2 separate regions of the Homo sapiens genome follow, and region 1 is linked to region 2. The links are contacts of gene promoters, found by promoter capture Hi-C in human tissues and cell types (Jung and others, 2019). All regions are on one chromosome and are shown on one strand. The core of a region is centred on a gene start or on the middle of the fragment in contact, and the rest is flanking DNA. Distances in the headings are between cores, read along the strand shown. Region 1 has its middle 65 kb from the start of LSM14A. Region 2 holds the start of PEPD (peptidase D).

Evidence for each region. Contacts are between HindIII fragments. The study calls those that stand out against the background at their distance.
Region 1: a fragment that was not itself captured here is called in contact with the fragment with the promoter of PEPD in region 2 in 1 of the 25 tissues and cell types used here (aorta).

The regions. Positions count from the first base shown.
Region 1 is chr19:34,104,448-34,111,107 of GRCh38, forward strand. No RefSeq gene overlaps it. Among named protein-coding and RNA genes, the nearest start is that of LSM14A, 65 kb to the right of the region's middle. The HindIII fragment of the contact is 7,140 bases long and covers 966-6,660 here.
Region 2 is chr19:33,519,819-33,526,696 of GRCh38, forward strand. PEPD (peptidase D) reads right to left here and starts at 1,973. Exons shown (of 15, transcript NM_000285.4): 1 at 1,926-1,973. The coding sequence starts at 1,942. LOC105372370 (a long non-coding RNA gene) reads left to right here and starts at 2,116. Exons shown (of 3, transcript XR_935918.3): 1 at 2,116-2,196; 2 at 3,603-3,678; 3 at 5,581-5,959. RefSeq lists enhancers at 1,274-2,237, 2,238-3,200 and a silencer at 1,983-2,182. The HindIII fragment of the contact is 21,434 bases long and covers 1-5,275 here.

The DNA.
Region 1 (6,660 bases), core at 3,286-5,785, 590 kb after region 2:
AGGGGGCTTTTTTAAAAAACAAAAAAAGGCGGGGCTTTTTTTTAAGAGACTACAAAAAGAAAAAGGGACTCAGGCGTAAACAAATATGTTTGCAGAGTTTATCAGGAATATGCCACGTTACACATACATGGATTTATCAAGGTAGAGCAAGTTTGGTTAATTAGAAGGTATGAAATGGTGATGAAGGTAGTAAAAGCTGCTGTGGGTGCAGAGGTGAATTCCCTGCTTCCCCAGGCAGCAAAGGAGTGTCAAAAACATGAAGCTGTCAATGACAGCACTTCAAGATCCGCCCGTGCTACCAATTGCACATGACAATGAAATTCCTCCTTAGGCCTGCGGGAGTTTTCTAGAATGTTAAACCCTGACCTTGCAATTCCTGGTTGCAGTCATTTCTAATGTCAAATGAACACGGTTTTATCTTTCACAGGCTAACCAAATGTTGGCTGGACTAATGTGCATTTTACATATTATTTATTTTACATATTACTTATTACTTATTTTACATATTAGTGATTTTACATATTATTACTTATTTTACATATTACTTATACATATGTGTATACACGCATGTATATACTTATACATATATGTATACACACATGTATATACTTACACATATACATATTTGCATATTACTTATTATATTTTACATATTACTTAAGTAATCACCACAAATACAACATATTTTTGGGAAAATGAGTATTCACAACTATATTTTGTTATGTCAAAGGGATTTTGTAAGTCAGAATCAATTAGAATGACTCAGTCATGTAATGCACCACATGTGTACAGGTATGTTTCTAAAAGCTTTAATTTTATTTTTTCATTTCTGTTATTTTTTTGAGACAGGGTCTCATTCTGTTACCCAGGCTGGGGTGCAGTGGCATAATCATGGCTCACCGCAGCCTCCACCTTCCTGGCTCAGGCGATCCTCCCACCTCAGCCTCCGGAGTAGCTAGTACTACAGGTGCTCGCCACCACACCCAACTAATTTTTCTATTTTTTGTAGAGATGGGTTCTTGCCATGTAACCTGGGCTGGTCTCAAACTCCTGAGCTCAAGTGATCTGTCCACCTTGGCCTCCCAAAGTGCTAGGATTACAGGCGTGAGCCAGTTTCTAAAAGCTTTAAAATGGCCGGGCTCAGTGGCTCACACCTATAATCCCAACACTTTGGGAGGCCAAGGTAGGAGGAACACTTGAGCCCAGGAGTTTGAAAACAGGCTAGGCAACATGGCAAGACCCTGTCTCTACAAAAAATTAAAAAGAATTAGATGGGCATGGTGGTGCGGACTTGTGGTCCCCACTACTCAGGAGGCTGAGGTGGGAGGATAGCTTGAGCCCAGGAGGTCGAGGCTGCAGTGAGCTATGATCCTACCACTGCACTCCAGCCTAAGTGACAGAGCAAGACCCTGTATAAAAAAAAGAAAAGAAAAAAGAGTAATTTTTAAAGCTTGGAATCCTTCATGGTAAGAAAAAACTAGCATTTATTAAGTGCCTACTAAAAATCAAGCACTGTTTTATACGTAGTGCCATACTTTGTACTTAACCCTCATAACCACCACACAAGTTATGCATTATGAAAACTAGTTTATATACTGCAACTCAAAGAAGCTAAGTGATTTTCCCAAAGACATAACAGCTGGCAAATGACAGAATTAGGACTTGAATTCACATCTTCCTACACCAACGCCTATATTGCCCAGCATATAACACCCACCCAGTAAATGTTTGAAGAACAAATGTTTAAAAGCCTTAATTTCAAAGGTCTATGAACTGGCTGAGTGTGGTGGCTCATGCCTGTAATTCTAACACTTTGAGAGGCCAAGGTGGGCGGATCAATTGAGGTCAGGAGTTCAAGACCAGCCTGGCCAACATGGTGAAATCCCGTCTCTACTAAAAATACAAAAATTAGCCAGGCTAGGATGGGCACGGTGGCTCACGCCTGTAATCCTAGCACTTTGGGAGGCCGAGGCGGGCGGATCATGAGGTCAGGAGATGGAGACCATCCCGGCTAACAAGGTGAAACCCCATCTCTACTAAAAATACAAAAATTAGCCAGGCATGGTGGCGGCGCCTATAGTCTCAGCTACTCAGGAGGCTGAGGCAGGAGAATGGCTTGAACCCGGGAGGCTGAGCTTGCAGTGAGCCAAGATCGCGCCACTGCACTGCAGCCTGGGCAACAGAACAAGACTCTGTCTCAAAAAAAAAAATTAGCCAGGCTAATTTTTGTTGTGGCGGGCACCTGTAATCCCATCTACTCAGGAGGCTGAGGCAGGAGAATAGCTTGAACCTGGTAGGCAGAGGTTTCAGTGAGCAGAGATTGTGCCACCGCACTCCAGGCTGGGTGACAGAGCAAGACTCCATCTCAAAAAAAAAAAAAGTCTATAAACCAAGACTACCAAATAACTGCCATGAATTCAGTTAGTTATACATAAAGACAAAAAAAAATGTCTAATACCACACCCACACATATATTTAGCTTCAATTTTTTTTTTTTTTAATTTAAGACGCGGTCTTGCTCTGCTGCCCAGTGCAGTGGTACAATTTCAGCTCACTACAGCCTTGACCTCCTGGACTCAAGTGATCCTCCTGCCTCAGCCCTGCAAGTAGCTGAGACTACAGGCGCACAACACTATGCCTGCTAATTTTTTTTATTTTTTGTAGAGACAAGATCTCACCATGTTGCTCAGACTGGTCTCGAATGCCTGGACTCAAGCGATCCGCCCGCCCTCAGCCTCCCAAGTGCTGGGATTACAGGGTGAGCCACCGCACTCGGCCCAAATATTTGTGAACACATTTAAACTCGGTACTTTTACCACTTGATCCTGAGTCATACTTTCAGAATAAAATCATACATCACGACTGAGAGTCAATCCCCATAAAATGGCTCTGCGAAAGGAAAACATGGCCCTTGAATTAACAAGAGCTGTTTATGAAGCCCAAACAAGATGGACAAAAAAAGAGGTGTTGTGAACCAAAGAGTTCTCCTAAACTTCTCTCACCTGTGTTCCCTGAGAATAAAAAAGGGACAATCTTTTTTTTTTTTTGAGATGGGGTCTCGCTCTGTCGCCCAGGCTGGAGTGCAGTGGCGCCATCTCTGCTCACTGCAACCTCCGCCTCCCAGGTTCGTGATTCTCCTGCCTCAGCCTCCCAAGCAGCTGGGATTACAGGCTGTGCACCACCACACTCGCATAACTTTTGTATTTTTAGTAGAGATGGGGTTTCACCATGTTGGCCAGGCTGGTCGTGAACTCCTGACCTCAGGTGATCCGCCCACCTTAGCCTTCCAAAGTGCTGGGATTACAGGCGTGAGCCACCACGCCTGGCTCCAGGGACAATCTTTTTAAAACAAGGAAGTCACAAAGAGGAAAAACTGATTTGCCCCTCCAGAAGATTCACACTTGGAACCACAGAAAGGCTTCACAAAGACCATTTTCCACCCTCCAGGTGTGTAAAGGTGGGGCCACACCCCAACTCCTCCAGTGTCACCTTTACCAGCCACAGGTGTATTTCCCTCTCCCCCTCCCTGGGAACAGACCCTACAGAAGGAACTTCTTTTCCCAATGAACGAATTGCAGAGTTACAGAGTTCTGATGTTTATCTTCATTAGATACTAGAAACGAATGAACCATTTAGAATAAAACCAAACGTCAACATGATACCAAACGGTGCATCTGAACGTGTCCCTGACCTGTGACCTTAGCACACTGAAGGGTGCCAAGGCTCCAACCTGCTCTGCCCCAACCTGTTCTTCTAACTGCCCTAGGTGTGTCCACACGTGTGGTGGGGTAGGTGACTCTAAGAATTTCAGATACTTAGATTGCAAATAATATGAGATAAAGCATAATTCCTCTTAAATAAAGCAGGTGCTCTTTTTAGGAACTCTTAAGTTATTTGAGAAAAAAAAATTACAGTTACAAAGCTTCTAAAAACCATCCCCAGAGCCATAAGATTGTGACATCAAAAATAGTGGAGGCCAGGCATGGTGGGCTCACACCTGTAATTCCAGCACTTTGGGAGGCGGAGGCATGAGAATTGCTGGCATCCAGGAGGCAGAGGCTGCCATGAGCCGGGATCACGCCACTGCATTCCAGAGCGACTCAGGAAAAAAAAAAAAAACCACCAGTGGATGGAAAAATAACTAAGGCCAAGTGCAGTGGCTCATGCCTGTAATCTCAGCATTTGGGAAACTAAGGTGGGGGCATTGCTTGAGCTCAGGAGTTTGAGACCAGTAACACAGCAAAACCCCGTCTTCATTAAAAATACAAAAAATTAGCCAGGCATGGTGGACATGCCTCTAGTCCCAGCTACTCAAGAGGCTGAGGCAGGAGGATGGCTTGAGCCCAGGAATTCGAGGCTGCAGTGAGCTAAGATCAGGCCACTGTACTCCAGCACGGGCAACAGAGTGAGACCTTTTCTCAAAAAATATAAAGAATAAATAAATAAATAATTAGGGCCAGTATTATGCTGAACTCATCCTAAAAATATGTTGTTTTCAGGCATTTACGTGATGCTCAGATCCTCTCCCACATTCCCTCCACTCAATATCAGAGCCTAGCTTCAGTCAGTGGAGAGTTGGAGCAAGAAACTTACCTAGGGGCTAATTAATCAGCGAGTCCTACAGAGAGCCTGCTGCGTGCAAGATGCTGAGCTGGGCCTTCATGGTGGCACCACCTGTGCGGTTCTCCTCCTGGCTTTCGCAAACCTGTCTAGACTCCTTTCCTCTTGCCCCCCTGCCTCTGAAACACAGCATCTCGGGCTGGGCACAGTGGCTCACACCTGTAATCCCAGCACTTTGGGAGGCCAAGGAGGGTGGATCACCTGAGGTCAGGAGTTTGAGACCATCATGGCCAACATGGTGAAACCCTACTAAAAATACAAAAATTAGCTGGGCATGGCGGCACGTGCCTGTAATCCCAGCTACTCGGGAGGCTGACGCAGGAAAATCACTTGAGCACAAGAGGCAGAGGTTGCAGTGAGCTGAGATCATGCCACTGCCCTCCAGCCTGGGTGACAGAACAAGACTCCGTCTCAAAAAAAAAAATTAGCCTATGTGCTGGCGTGCACCTGTAATCCCAGCCACTGCGGACGCTGAGGCAGGAGAATCGCTTGAACCCAGGAGGCAGAGGTTGCAGTGAGCCAAGATTGTGCCACTGCACCCCAGCCTGAGTAGCAGAGCAAAACTCTGTCTCAAAAAAGAAAAAAAAAACATACACACACACACACACATACAGAGCATCTTGCTCTCTGGCACCACTGTCATACCCAACAGCCTCTCCTTCACTTGTGGATCAGCAAACCCCAGCTCATTAACCAAGGCTCAGAGCCAAGACCTCTGTGAAGCCATCTGTAAAGGCCACAGTAGAGTGGCTCCTCGTCCTCTTTCTCCATGTGATGTGGCTTTACAAGCACAGCTAACTTCCCTGTCACACGGCCAGCCCCTTAGAGAAGGGAGGATGCCTTCATTGCCTTCATTAACACAGAGTAGAGTTCCTATAATGACTTACTAAGTCACACTGAGACCTAACGTAAAATTAAACCATAAGGAATCAAGGCATATGGGTTTATTGCTGTACCTTTAAATGAAACCCACAGAGAAAAGTGAAACGATCATCCAGTTTTTTAATAGCAGTAGCATCTCTGAATGTTGTCAGAAATTTTTCCCTTGTGGTTATTTCATTACAATTTAAGAAACTTTAGGAGTGGCATATAAAATATTTTGCCTATCTTTTTTAATTTTTATTTTATTATTTTCTTAATTTTTTTTGTAGAGATGGGGGTTTCACTCTGTTGCCCAGGCTGCAGTGCAGTGGCATGATCATAACTCATCATAGCCTTGAACTCCTGGCCTCAAGAGATCCTTCCACTTCTGCCTCCCAAGTAGTGGGACTACAGGTGCACACCACTACAATCAGCTAATTTTTTTTGGTAGAGACGGGGGCTTGCTCTATTGCCCAGGCTCATCTCAAACTCCTGACCTCAGGCAATCCTCCCACCTCAGCCCCCTAAAGCACTGAGATTATGGGTGACAGCCGCCATGCCTTGCCTATATTTTCTTTCTTATACAATAGATAAAAATGAAATCAGGCTGGGCACAGTGGCTCTCACCTGTAATCCTAGCACTTTGGGAGGCTGAGGTGACAGGATCACGTGAGTCCAGGAATTCAGGATCAGCCTAGGCAACATGGCAAAACCCCATCTCTGCAAAAAAAATTGTAAAAATTTGCCAGGCATGGTGGCACGTGCCTAAAGTCCCAGCTACTTGGGAAGCTGAGGTGCGAAGATCATCTGAACCCAGGAGGTCAAGGCTGCAGTGAGCTGTGATCATGCCACTGCACTCCAGCCTGAGTCACAAAGTAAGACCCTGTCTCAAAAAACGAAATCAAAGTCTCCACCTCCCAAGCCAAACCACAACCCTTCCTGAGCTCCCCACCGTCCCATCTCAGTGGAAGCCCATGGAGCACCATCCAGAGTCCCCAGGTCAGAAGCCCTGGAGTCCACTCTGGATGCTGCACTAGACACTGCCCAGGGCAGCACACCTCTCCTGAAGTGCTCCCTGGGTTTTTCCTCTGTCCCCACTGGCCTCTTCTCTTGGTCTCCTCTGCAGATTTCTAAGGCCCACTCCAAAGGCTGGCTTGGTCCTCAGTCCACACTCTCTCT
Region 2 (6,878 bases), core at 723-3,222:
ACTTTGGGAGGCGGAGGCGGGTGGATCACCTGAGGTCAGGAGTTCGAGACCAGTCTGGCCAACATGGTGAAACCCCATCTCCACTAAAAATACAAAAAATTAGCTGAGTGTGGTGGCACACGCCTGTAATTCCAGCTACTCAGGAGGCTGAGGCAGAAGACTCGCTTGAACCTGGGAGGTGGAGGTTGCAGTGAGCCATCATGCCATTGCACTCCAGACTGGGCAACAAGAGCAAAACTACGTCTCAAAAAAAAAAAAAGAAAGAGAAAAAGAAAAGCTCTCATTCCAGGATCCAGTCAGTTCCAGACTTGCTCCCGTCCAGACATCAGCTTGGTTCCTTCAGGAGAGCAGCAGGTCTCAGGCCAGCTTGGAATCCTGAACCCAAATGCAACCCCTGGCACTCCCTGTGAGCACCGAGCCAGCCTAACCAGAGAGACAGCACACCCACAGCTGGGCACCAGCCTGCTCAGTCTACCCTTTAAAAGGGTCACAGGCTGGATTCAAGGATCTGACCCTGAGTTCCTTGACACCCATCTGAGACTTTGTCTGCACTGTTCTCTACCTGAAGGGAGTCTCATTGCTGAAGGACTAGCACAAAAGTCACCCAGGAAGTGAAGCCTTCCCACACTTTATCTGAGCTCAGAGTCCATGCCCCTCCTTTGCAAATGGCAAGACCACACGGCAAGCAGATGGATGACAGAGTCCCATGTGTCCATCTGTTCCAGTGGCCTGTGAGTACCTTAAGGGAAGACCCACTGCTATTCCTGGAATATAGCAGGTGCCCACAAAATATTTGATTTGTATGCTCTAAGCTCCCTCAACCTTGGGGGCCAACTTAGAACCCACTTTCTGTTGCCATTTTCCCTGTATCTTAAAAAGAGAGATGCATTCAGTCCACTAGATCCCCCATTCTGACCTCAGTTTCCAACCTGGCATCTGGAATACTGCTCCCTCCTACACCATGCCCCCTCTACCCCACTGTACCACCAGACCCACACCTTCTCCCATTGAACTCACACATAGCTCAGGGGAGCCTAATCTTTAAAAAACAGATCAAGCAGCTTGTAACAAAACCCTTCCAGCCCATCAGGGCAAAGTCTGAAGCCGCCACCTGGAACACCACACCTTCCAACCAGCCCCAGGCATGCACCCCTGTCCCCAGAACACTCTGAACTCTCAACCTTTGTCCCTTACCCTGGGCTCAGATGCTCCCTATCTGGGAGATTCCGCCCAACGCTCTGGTGAACCCATCTGTCCACCCTTCCTCCCACTACGACCACTCAGCTTTCTTTCATTTAGCCCAGTATGGAGCACCTACTGTGTGCAAGGCACCGGGCTACTGAGAAGCAGGTAACATACCTGCCCTTGCACTCTAAATGCAGAGAAGATAAAGAACAAGTACAAACAATGCTCTATATAGTTTATCAGGTGATGATGAGGGCACAAAAAGTGGGATAGATGGTTAGAGAAGGATTCCCTGAGGGGGTGACATTTGGCCCCTGAAAGAAATGGGGAAGTGCCCTGCTGGGAAAAGGGAATTCCAAGTCCGTCTCGAATACCGCCTCCTCCGGGAAGCGCCCGGGTCCCTGGGGTCCTCGCAACGCCGCCCTCCTACCCGGGGGTCTTGGCAGCGAACATGCGTGTCGACCCCAGCCCCCACCGCAGCCGCACACGGTGGGGCCGCCAGACGCGGGCAGGTGGGGCCGGAGCCAGCCAGGAGGGTGGAGAGGAGCTGCGGCCCCCGCGCTGACCCTGACTCGGAGCGTGCAGCTCGCCGACCGGCGCTGGGACTCCGGGCCAACGGGAAGAGGCGCCTACCCGCGGCATTCAGCGACCCCGGCTGACGCTCTCACCCGCGGTCCGGCCGGGACACCCATGCCCCTCTCCACGCCAGCGGGAAAGAGCGAGGGAGGCGCAGCACTCACCCGGTGGCCGCCGCCATGTTCGCCCGGCACCGGCGTCACGTGAAGTGCGGCGTCAGCTGAGCCCCTCCGGGTGCCAATGCATGGGGCGGGGTAAGGGCGGGGCAGGGGGCGGGGCATGGAGTCCTTGACCCACCTCCTCCAGAGCCAAATTCCACGGGACGGGAAGGGGCGGTACCTGGGGAAGGGCGGAGCCCCGATGGGGCGGGGCTCCCGGAGATTGGGGGCCCAAGAGCTCGGCCAGGATAAATGAGCGGGCTGCCGGCTGCAGACAGTAGGTCGGGTTAGCGGGCAGCATCTGCAGCCTTTTCGTGGTGGGAGGGAGGTCCTGAAGCAGAGGACATCTTGATTCTGGTTCAGTCCCCGATCTGGCGTACCAGCCCACCCGGGAGAAGAACACATAGGAATAAAGAAACCACGTGGGAGGAGAGGAGGGAGACTGACCCAGGCTAGGGTCGGGGCAGAGGTGGCGATTTTTGTTTAAGAAGGGAAAGGGCTTGAGCAAAGGCCGTGGGGCAACTGGAGGACTCTAAATGTGCAGCGTCCAGGAGAATGTGCGCGAGAGAGGGGCAGCCTAAGGGAAGCAAGGGCCAGACCCTGCGGGGCCTCCACTGTGGGGCCTATGAGTTAAGTCTGGTAGGATCTTTTCTAGGTTTCCTGGGCTGCAGAATGGAGAAGCTGGAGGAAGGGAAGCCAGGGAGGAGGGCAGGCGAGAAGTGGGCACAGCCGAGAAGGGTTTAGGAGGGAGAGTCTGCCAGAAGGCTTACTCCTCTGCCCCACTGGGCACTGGTACTGGGTGCAGAGTCCTGCAGAGAAGGTGTAGGGACCCTGCAGCAGACGCTGCCCTCCCTACTGCCAACAGAGTCAGGGCATTACAAGCACGGCCCAAATGCGTTGCACATGTGAGCTCATAGAAACCTCACCACAGCCCTATGAGGTCGAGACTATCTTTAAGTCTATTATACAGATGAGGAAACTGAGGCCAGAGAGTGCTCACACAGAGGCTGAGCTCATGAAGCCATACCCTGAGGAGTGACCTCACTGCCCCTGTGAAGGAAGGGGGCCCCACACTGTTGGGGGAGGGCGTCCCTGGCGCCAAGGGTGTACAGATGTGTGTGGTGTACAGATGTGTGTGGACAGGTGGATGGGTGGCCCAGGATAGGCGTGTGGGGCTCCTGACCCCACCCTGCAGCTGTCCCACAGCTGGAAGTGGCTTCTGATCAAAGGTTGTGGGTTGGGGGATGCTTCTTGTTTCTTTATCGAAACAAGGATGTGGGTCACCATGGCCAGGCTGGTGGGAGCCAGGGGCTATGACTGGAGAAGCAGCTTCTGTTTGTCCCCATGAAGCAGGGAGGAGAATAGGCCCCTTAAATAGGAGCAAGGGAGCCAGCCATAAGCAGGGTAGTGAAGGGCACGTGGCACAGTTACCTGGAAGCCCAGTACCATCCCTGCTGTCCTCATCTGTCAGGAGAGAGCTAATGGGGCCACCTCACAGGGCTGCTAGAGGGTTTTACACTCAAACCTGCAGGCACAGCCAGAGACCAAAGCTGCCAGGAGGAATGTGGCCCCTCCAGACAGCCCCTCCCACCTCCCGGTCCCAGATAAGGAAAACGAGAGCTAATGGAAGAGGGGGGGCCTCATCCCTTCTACCCCTTCCCACAACACATGGACAATTTGCAGGGGTCCCTGACCTCCAGGCAAGGTCCAAGAGGAGCTCTCTCCACCCTCTTGCCAGTTTCCAGGAAGAAGAACAGAGGTAAGGATTCACACCCCACTGCCTGGCCTAGGGGCCCCTGAGAACTTCTAACACCCCTAGTTAAGCAGTAGGTCCGCCTTCAGCTTAAGAAACTCAACTCCCTAGTAAGTGGCGCTTTAAAAAATACATAATAACAAAGGGTGAGCAGAATGAGCTTTCCATGCGCCTTCAAGGAAGGAAAACATACCCCCCAGCTCATTCATTGCACCTGCCTCCCACCATTTCTTTTGACATAAAATATGTCAAAATTAAGCCAGCTGCCAGCTCTGAGTGCTTACTAATATGAAAAAGAAGTCAATATCCCAAACACAAAATAATGGAAGGAAGGCACCCACCAACTGAGTGGAGCTCCCTTGTTTGTGGACAGTAATATGGAGGCACTGCCCATGACCCCTGCCCACCCAGGTCCCCTGCCCTCTCCCCTCCCCATCAGGGGCTCCGGCAGGGCTGCCCCTCACCCCTCACCCCTCCCCATCAGAGGCTGTGGCAGGGGCTCCAGAAGCCGCCCAGAATATGGGAGAAGACCATTTAGTTACTTATGCAGGGCAGACCCAGGACGTTGCTGGAGCCAGGAGGCAATTGGGGGAAGATTGATTTTAGAGAGTCGAAGTGGGAGTGTGTAAATCAGCCAAGGCAGCGCGCCAGGCAGCACTCTCATGCGGCATTGCCTCCGAGGTCACAGGCCCTTGTGGCCGAAACAGTCTCCTCTCGTCAAGCCCTGCAGGTGGCTGGTAGATGTCTGCACTCGGTCAGCCTGGTAGCCCGGTAGCCAGCATAGCATTATTCTCCAGAAGGGCCCCCCCAACTCCCGTCAGGCCTTGCAAAAGAAGCTTCACCCTGGGAAGACACCTCTTGTGTCCCGGGACACTGTGTCCAGCCAGGTTTCCCTCCTCCACCCATTCCCCACAATCTAGCCCCCACTCTTGCAACTCCGTGGACGCTGCTGACAGCTGGCTGCCTGGAGACGGCAGGCCCAGATGTGGCGGCCTGCTAGGCTCTGACTCATGAGCCACCCTTGGGCCATGAAGGGGAGGTCCCCGGGAAGAGCCCTGTCCATCTTCTGCTGTGGATTGAGGGCACTGGTCTACCAGAGGCTCTGTGGGACTGCACTGGAGGTAGCCTGGATGCTGGTTCTGCCCTGCACCACCCAGTTGTTGCCCACAGTGCCACTCCAGGACTGGCCATGCTGTGAGGGCCAGGGATCCAGACCCTGCCCTTGCCTAGAGGATCTTTGGTCTGGGGACAGAGGTAGAGGAGCCCTCCACACTGTCCCTGGGGAGTCCACCATCTGGGAGGGCCTCAGAACGGGGCTTCGAGGGTTCTGCTTTTGGCTAATGGGGAGATCCTGGGGGATTCTGAGCTGCAAGCTGCCGATCCAAACCCCTCTCTCCAGCAGGAGCTCAGGAGGATTAGCAGAGAGAACTGAAAAGAGCCAATAAGAGCCAATAAAGCCACTGCACGGGGCCGCCAGCCTCAGATGGTCAAAGCCCTACACAAGATGGCATTTGGGTGTTTTGCGATTGTTTGCTTTTGCTGAGAATAGAAGACTGGATGCAGAAAGCCAGCACCAAATAAACAGAAGAGGAAGAATAGAGGGGACTGTGGGTGTGAGATAGGGGCAGGGTGGCATATGGCAACCCAGTGTCTTCCCAAGTGGGAAAGCAAGGAGCGTGATGGGTGTGGAATGCCCAGGAGACCGTCTCTCTATCCTGGTTCTGGCAGATCCCAGCCTTGGGCCTTTGCAGGGCCTGCAGAGGTAGCCACAGCTCTCCCACTCCAAAGGCCTGTGTGGCCTGCTCCTTCCTCCAGGCCTACACCCCAGCTGTCACCACCATCCATCAACCCCCCTCCTCACAGGAGCCCCCACATCACGTTCTACTCCTCCTCTCCTTTCTCCCCCAGCCCAGCCCACCTGGGCATCTATCTTCCTGTAGAAAAGAGGCAGGCAGAGCTGAGGGGCCTTCCCAAGGAAGCCCCCATCACCGCCTCAGATGAAGTGGTCCCTGCTGAATGCTTTGCTGGGGTCTACGAGGCAATTCAAGATGAGAAATGGAACGGTGGCTTCGGAAAAGCAAATCATTCCAACAGCACCTGAAAACATCGAAGGAAACAAGCTCTTTTTGTGTGTGTGGAAATGGGGAATATATTGTTTCTCACTGTTTCGAAGACTGTTTTCCCATCTTGAAATCACAAGCTGTTTTCTTCCAGAGAGACTTATAAATACATCCAATTATCGACATTCAATATAAGAAATAAAGTTCTGAAATGGTTTTCTTCAGCACATGCAGAGTGAGCCGACCAGGTTGGGCAGGTGATAATTACTTTTATTTCTTACGAGTGGGTATCACCGCGGAGTGGCTAGAAGCTTCACCTTTTATTGCCTTCACCTTTTATTACATTTCCCACGTTGTGCAGGGCTATTCATTGGTAATTTTATTATCCCATATCAAGATCTTGATTAAAAAAAAGGATGAAATTTCTAATTTCAAAAGATATGAGTGCAAAGTCCCAGAGTAGGAGGATTTGGTCCTATACCTTGTGACCTGAAGAGTAACCCTCCAGGGGGATGGACTGTCCTTGTGCCCAGCTCCAAGTGACTGAATGTCACTGACTAGACAGTGGGTGTCTGCTGGCATTCACAATTGTTCCTTTTTTTTTTTAAATAGAGATGGGGCCTTGCTTTGTCACCCAGGCTGGAGTGCAGTAGTGTGATCATAGCTCACTGCAGCCTCAAACTCCTGGGCTCAAGCAATCCTCCCGCCTCAGCCTCCTGAGTAGCTAGGACTACAGGTGTGCCCCCCCAACGCCTAGTTAATTATTTTTAATTTTGTATGTTTTGTAGAGATGGGGTCTTACTATGTTACCCAGGCTTGTCTCAAACTTCTGGCCTCAAGGCATCCTCCTGCCTCAGTCTCCCAAAGCTCAGGATTGCAAGGCATGAGCCACTGAGCCTGGCCTCAACTGTTCCTTTTAGGGACTCTGCTCAGGGTGTCATTTTAAGAAGGATGCTTGTCATTTTAGGATGGTGTCATTTCTTTTCTTTTCTTTTCTTTTTATTTTTTTTTTTTTTGAGATGGAGTTTTGCTCTTATTACCCAGGCTGGAGTGCGATGGTACAATCTCGGCTCACCACAACTTCTGCCTCCTGGGTTTAAGCAATTCTCCTGCCTCAGCCTCCGGAGTGGCTGGGATTACAAGTGC